Linked DNA regions of Homo sapiens: region 2 is linked to region 1. Evidence: promoter capture Hi-C in 16 types of primary human blood cells and fetal thymus (Javierre and others, 2016). All regions are on one chromosome and are shown on one strand. Each heading gives the region's core, a stretch centred on a gene start or on the middle of the fragment in contact. The rest is flanking DNA. Distances are from core to core; before and after follow the strand shown.

Region 1 (3,717 bases), core at 715-3,214:
TAATTATAAAGGCTATATTTTCTAAATGCATTGGCATCTGTTTCTATACATTTCAGATTGGCAAGTGGAAGCATGATGAGAAAGAAGTGGCCTGTCTTTATGGTTCAGGAGAACTGGGTCAGGGTTACGCTATAATGAAATGCATTATGAAAAAAGTTGAGAGTGAATGGTGGGTCCTTTGGGATTTGAGATCAGCAACAGTTGCTTCATAGGCTCTTGGATGCATTCTCCATAAGAGAAGGAAGAAAATGGAAAAGACACTGTGTGTTTTTCAAATGTGTGCATGCTAATTGTCGAAACATACATGGCCAGGAGATTGAACCGCATTAAAAACGCTTGGCAGAACTGGGGATTCTCTATGGAGAGGCTCTTTCCTTTCCCAGCACTCCCTGCTCTAGTGAGTTGGAGCATACCTGCCATTTAAGGGTTAATGTTCTGCGGTCTTTAACAGAACAACTTATACAAAAAAATTCCTAGTAGAGTAAAAGCGCTGTGGTTTTGCAAACCAAGAGCACTGGTTGTTAGCACTTACATAAAAGATCGGTATGTTTTTAAAACTCACCAATGAGCTGGCAAATACTGTCTTCACTCTCACATGATGCCAACAGGGGATGTTCCTTGATATCACCCTAAAAACATTTTTATTTCAGTTAAATATAGTGACTGAAGAAACCTATCGAGTCTTTCCCCACAAAACACACATACAGCATTTTATTCATATTAAAAATGAAGTCAGTAGAGTGCATTGATGTTTTTTCTAGCTTCTAGAAGCAATATTAAGGTCTTGATTGTCATCATATAAGATCCTAATTAATGTGCTTAATTTACTACATGTGTGATGTTAGTTTACTACTCTTATAATTACTATTCAACCCAAATAATATTCAATTAAAACAAAGTTTTCCACCTTCTCACAGTACAGATAAAAAGTCTTAAAAATTGCTTTCTTACCTCTGATTGACATTCGATTAGTGTCTCCATATTATTGGCGTTTAGTGTTTTTGACTAAAAGAGAAAAAATAAAATTAGGTAAATATCTTTTGGCCCTTGCCTGTAGGAAACGTGAATGAATGAATGTGAGAGGGGCACTCACAGCATTGTGGCTGCTTCTCAGCTTCATCAGTATTGCGGCTGACTGTCCAGGGGTGGATTTCACTCCCGTGTGGCTGTGCCTCTGTCTACAACGAATCACATGGAAAGGAGTTAGGAGGGACTCACACAGTAGGCCACTTTCAGCGCCACTTTGCCAAAGCACAGAGTTTGAAACTATTTATTTATTTTTCTCTTTTGCTATTTTTTCACTTGCCTTTACTTTGGAAAAAACTATTACATAGACAAGTTTTCATTTAAAATCAGTTCTGTTACCAGATGTTGTATGTTGTTAAGAGCAGCATCTGAACACAATTATTTCTAAATTATTTAAGTCAACTATCTTTACCACTCTAAACGTTGTTACCAATTTATTCCGTTCCATCAAGAGATAATCTGGATATCAATTACGTTAACATTTTAAATTAACATGAACATTAACTTTTTTGGTGGAGTGCTGACTATATGCCAGCTGTCGTAGTAGGTGCTTTGCATGGATTTTCTCATCTAATCCAAAAAGGAAAAAAAAAAAAACATATCCCTAGGATGCTAAAATAGTAAACATGAAACAAAGATAACATTTACAGAACTCCTACACCAAAAAGGTGCAGCCTTCACGTTGAAGCAAAGCTTTGTCCTGAGACTTTATAAAGTGAGAGCATATTCCACGGGATAGCTGTTTTCTGTTGCCTGTGATCTGAGTGACCTGTGACTTGCGAGGCAGCTTGTAATTTCTAGGCATGTTAATATATAGTGTACTTACCCTTGGAGGGTCTCTAGCCAGAGTTCTTTTACATCCGGTGAGCTGTAAAGAATGGGAGAAACAGCATAACTCTCTGCTCCTTCTAGTCCACTGGGAGAGAGAGAGACCGAGCCGGTCTCCCTTCACATGCTCTGCATTATAAGCGAAGGGGCGGGCAGGTGGAAATTCAGAATATTACAGAGACCGGAAAGAACATCATGGGCTGTCACACGGACGGAGCCAGCCAGACACTGGAGAGCTCTCGCTTCCTCATTCCTTTTAGGGCAGCTATGTCTTTTTTTTTTTTTTTTTTTTTTTTTTTTTTTGTGTCTTCCACTTCAAAGTAAAAAATCTGTAAACTACTAGGAGTGGAAAACATGACATTCAGCCCATAGGTGAAGGCTCTGATTAATGTCATAGGTGGGATGTGTGAACAAGAAATTGTGTTATTCTGTGCATAAACATCACTTTATTTTCTAAAGTGGTAATTTCAAGTGCCTCTTTTTGCATCCTGTTTGGGTGCTCTTTCCCCTCCCACGTGCCATCTGCTCTGTCCACCAGCACCACACGTTGATTAGCACCCCTGGATGTGGGACACTGTTACAGAACCAGAAAGAAACCCAAGACAGTCCCTTCCTTGAGGAACAATCACCGTCCAAAGCCAGGTTAGTTTCCTTTGGAAGTAGAAAGAAAACTCCCTCGAGTCAGTTGTCAATATAGTAACCCCCTCCTCCTTTCTGTAACTCCTGGTCAAAAGTATTGATACTTAATTTACAGTCAGAGCAGCTGTCGTTCTGACACGGAAGGAAAACAAACAAAAAAATTCCTTTGATCAGACCAACTTAAAGTAGGAAAGAGATGGTGAATTTCATTTGTGGATCACTCTTCTGCATAAGAGAATTTCTGATCTTTTCTGTAGATCAAGGGCTATATATGAAACCACTCAAATGCCTCGACACGAGAATGGATGCATAAATTGTGATCCATTCACATAGGGAATGAATGTTGTATAGCACTGATAATGAACAGCCTATGACTATAGCCAACAATATGGTTGGATCTCATAATATGACGCTGAGCAAAAGAAGCCAGACGTGAAAGTGTATATCCTGCCGGCTCCCATTAATGCAAAGCACAAAATTAGCAAAAGTCGTCTGTGCTGTTGGAAGCAAGAGTAGCAGTTTCCCAGAGGGGATGGTAATGACTTCCAGGGGCCAGCGGGGGGCTTGGTGATGGTCCATTCTTGATCTGGGTGGTGCTAGGCTTATGTGCACACTTCCCTATTTATGTAATTTTTCAATAAAAAGTTTTAAAATAACTTGGCTTCATTTATCATCAGCATCTTTAATTTTAAGACTTTTCCGCATTGTCAGTTCTTTTGTCATTTTACTGAAAGGAGGTGATTATGGGGCAGACTTTGGGAAACCGAAGCACAGAGAGGTCGAAATTTGCTCTGTAACTTAGCGGCTCGGTGGGGACCTAGGGACAGATCCTGGTTTTCAGGCTTCCAGCTGGGGGCTCCCTCTCTGAAAGCCACCACAGTGCCAGAGTTCACCCAGTGTTCCCAGGGCAGCTGTAGAGGCCACCACTCTTTCAGCATCCCTCTCCTGCCTTTATAAACCTCCAAAGTGAACTCACTGATTTTTTTAATTGAAAAAGGGCATTTACGCTGTGCCCAGCCTAGTGCTAGGCATATAGTAGGTACTAAATAACTAATTTCTGAATATATACATTTCCTTATAAAATAGCCAAAATAGAATATTACTATAATGTTCTATATATCATAGAATATATATGTGATGTATATTCATTGCTAGTATGTATTTTCTAAACTTTTTTTTTTCCCGACAAACGGACTTTTCAAATTTTTGTAAGAAACTTAATGT
Region 2 (3,717 bases), core at 821-3,320, 35 kb after region 1:
TGAGACGAGTTCTCACTCTGTCTCCCAGGCTGGAGTGCAGTAGTGCAATCATGGCTCACTGCAGCATCGAACTCCTGGGCTCAAGCAATCCTCCTGCCTCAGCCTCCTGAGTAGCTGGGACTAGAGGACTGAGCTACCAGGCCTCGCTATTTTTTTTTCTTTTGTAGATACAGGGTTTTGCTGTGTTGACCAGGCTGGTTTTAAACTCCTGGGCTCAAGCAATCCTCCTGCCTTGACCTCCCAAAGTGCTGGGATTACAGGTGTGAACCACCACACTCAGCCTAATAACTGTCTTTTCTAATCTCCCTGTCACCACTATGCTGTGGTACTATTACTATCCACATTTTACAGAGGACGAAACTGGCATCTAGAAGCTTAAGACCCCCATAGACAGCTGGGACCAAATTCAAGTTCAGCTAAATCACCAGCCTGCTCTCTATCATGCTGCTGCCCTGTATGGCCATTTTGGAAATTTCTGGCTAAAATAGCTACTGGATAGAAATGAACTACTACTATTGGTTCAGCATTTCTTCATTTATCCAGCGAACTTCTGTTGAGACCCTGCTGGTGAGGGCCCAAGGTGGATAAGGTTTGCCCCATCTGGAAGTCACCTGGGCTGGCTCAATTAGAGGGAGGCAATGCCAAAGGCAGTGGGAACCTTGAGGAAGGAACAACTCACTCTACCTGCGGCAGCTGGAGTGGACTTCCATGACATGGTGACATTGACGCTGAAGTGGGCTATCCCAAAGAGGAGAAAAAGGGGCAAGAGACTTGGAGAAGACTCAGCAAGGTGACCCAGGAATGGGAGGCGTGGGGAGTTTGGGAAACTCCAAGTATTTCCCTGCACAATGGGAGGAGAGGGAGGAAGTAGGAGAGAGTAAACCTTCTTAGTGCCACACTAGCTGGAGGGGCTTCATAAGAAGGCAGGTGATGTTACTGATGTTTTATTGAGATGATGTTTGCCATTGAGGATTGGAAGAGATGGGAGTGAGGTGAGGCGGGTGCTAGATGAGATCAGTCTTGAAGCCACTACTCCTCTGTGGTGGCATGAAGGATGAAATGGGCTGAGCAGGTAAGGAGACAGGTGCAATAGTCAGATGCGAGATGATGAGGGCCTGGGATGAGGCAGAGGGGATGGGTTAGAATGACATGGTCTTGGTCATTGAATGGATTTGGGCAAAGGAAGAAAAGGAGAACATTTTGGCTTCTGCCTCGCCCCATTGTCTCAATCTCATGCTAAAGGGGACTCTCTGTCTTGACTTAGTGGGTGCATACTTGAAAATGGAGTTTCAGGCTGGGCGTGGTGGCTCATGCCTGTAATTCCAGCACTTTGGGAGGCCAAGGCAGATGGCTTACTTGAGGTAAGGAGTTTGAGACCAGCCTGGCCAACATGGTGAAAACCTGTCTCTACTAAAAATACAAAAATTAGCTGGGTGTGGTGGTGGGTGCCTGTGCTCTCAGCTACTCAGGAGACTGAGGCAGGAGAATCGCTTGAACCTGGGAGGCAGAGGTTGTGGTGAGCCAAGGTTGCGCCACTGCACTTTAGCAAAAAAAAAAAAAAAAAAGGATTTCAGGGTGGCTATTACCTAAGTAAAGGTGGATGGGTTTTTAAGTTCCTCTGTTTCATTTGTTCACTTCTATTATTCATGTCTCTAGCATGAATCTGCAAGCAGAACCAGTCCCAGTGGAAACTGTGGTGGAGGAGGTTCGAAATGACAGGGGGTACATTATGTAAAGCTGCTGTCCTTTTTTTGTCTCCCGGCCGCTCCCAGCCTTGCACTGGGTCTCTCCCTGGTTACAGAGTACAGCATTCCAGAGAAGAACAGTTTGGCAGAAAATAAAAACATTTGGCATATAGTAAAAATAAACAGAGATCTGCAATGAGGAAATCTTAACCCTGAACAATTCATGGAGAAAATATCTTCTGGGATATTTGAACCATCAAGAGTTGGGATAATTTAACATATGGGCTATAAAATGAGGAAGAAGGAGACAAATTTAAATGCTTCCTTTAATTAGAATATCTTGGTGAAATTGGGTTATAGCCTCCTGGGACCAATTGTTTTATTTTATAACTTTTCCTTAAATTTTGTTTTGCATTTTTTTTCACTATATCAAGAAAGCCTAGACCAAATAAACTACTGAAACATCTGGGCTCAGAACTATGAGGCCCCCACATAGCTGTCTAAAGCACAAGAAAATCCAGGTTCAAATCCCAACTTCACTGCATACTCATGCTGTGACTTGAGGCAAGGGGATAACCCACGCATCAGCGTTTCGATCCTCAAGCTAAGAATAAAAACACCAAGGATAGGTTGGTCTGAGGACCAAATTATAGAAATAATATGAAAATGTTAGTCTACTACCTGGTCCACAGGCAACACAGAATAAAATGTTAGCTCTTTATTATATCATTTAATTCAAAGAGACCAAAGTCACGTGTAGTGGCATTTGGGCATAGCAGCAGGCACACAGGAAGTCTCATGGCCCAGCAGAATTGCCTTACTTAGCTTCTCTCTAGAGACAGAGGTGTGGGGCAGCCTTCATTGTGATTAATGAAACAGAGGTTGGCCAAGGTCTATGACAGCACAGGTCTTCCAGTCAGAAGTGAACTCCAGGCAGGGGTCCATTCTAGCTCTTGTGTTGACAGCACAATGTAAGAGACACTTAGTCTGTAAGAAACTTGAAATAGCCCATAACCTTCCTCACATCCTCCACCTCCTACCAAGCTCTGGGGCTGTCCCACTTTGTGCACAGACTGGAAGTTGTGCTTTGTTGACACTGGGGTAACGTAACTGTGCACATCTGCTAATGGGCAAGGTGGCCTGGCAGAGGAACGGTCTCAGGGGCTTCCCCTTCTGCAGAAAGGACTGTGGAGCTCACACCCTGAGTTTAGAGAAATGACCAGTCCCTTTCTTTCTTTCTGTCTGTGCTCTATGGGTTAATCTAACAATACCCATCAAAAGGAAGGAAGAGCCACGAGGGTCTTTTTGTTTTATTTTTAGCAGAGCCCTCCTTCCTGTCTGGTCTTCCCCAGTCCCTCACTTAGGTCCCACACTCTGTGGTGAGGCAGTCATGCTAATCTGCCTTACAACCAACTTTCCATCATCCTTACAATTAGGAGTTACTGTAAAAAATAGATCTGGAACAAGGGAATATACATCCTTAAAAAAAAAAAACAAAAAAAAAAAAACAAAAAAAACAAAAAAAAAAACAAACCAAAAAACAAGGCCAGGCATGGTGGCTCACGCCTGTAATCCCAGCACTTTGGGAGGCCAAGGCGGGTGCGGGTGGATCACGAGGTTAGGAGATTGAGACCATCCTGGCTAACATGGTGAAACCCCTCTCTACTAAAAATACAAAAAATGTAGCCGGGCTTGGTGGCAGGCGCCTGTAGTCCCAGCTGCTGGGGTGGCTGAGGCAGGTGAATGGCATGAACCCGGTAGGTGGAACTTGCAGTGAGCTGAGATTGCGCCACTGCACTCCAGCCTGGGTGACACAGCGAGAGTCCATTAAAAAAAAAAAAAAAAAAAAACACAAAAAAAACCCAGAAAAAGAACTTATAGGAATTTAGAAGTAATTACAAGTAATTACATCCTCACACTATCCTGAAAATTCAGTCCATTTCAGTTTTTAAATCAACATTTAAGGAAAATAACTAATATTTGTTGAGCATCAAGGACTTGACCCATTAACATCAAATCTTTAGTAATGCTC

What was found. The method cuts DNA at HindIII sites, captures the fragments that hold promoters and counts their contacts. A CHiCAGO score of 5 or more calls a contact.
Region 2: a contact is called between a fragment that was not itself captured here and the fragment with the promoter of TAGAP in region 1, in 2 of 17 cell types (total B cells and naive B cells). The highest score is 7.7, in total B cells.

What each region holds. Positions count from the first base shown.
Region 1 is chr6:159,043,027-159,046,743 of GRCh38, forward strand. It overlaps TAGAP (T cell activation RhoGTPase activating protein), which reads right to left and starts at 1,965. Exons shown (of 10, transcript NM_054114.5): 1 at 1,853-1,965; 2 at 1,094-1,178; 3 at 952-1,005; 4 at 563-629. The coding sequence starts at 1,120. TAGAP-AS1 (TAGAP antisense RNA 1) reads left to right here. Exons shown (of 5, transcript NR_183546.1): 5 at 1-30. The HindIII fragment of the contact is 8,846 bases long and covers 1,718-3,717 here.
Region 2 is chr6:159,077,785-159,081,501 of GRCh38, forward strand. All of the region lies in intron 3 of LOC112267968, which reads right to left. Among named protein-coding and RNA genes, the nearest start is that of TAGAP, 35 kb to the left of the region's middle. The HindIII fragment of the contact is 3,396 bases long and covers 373-3,717 here.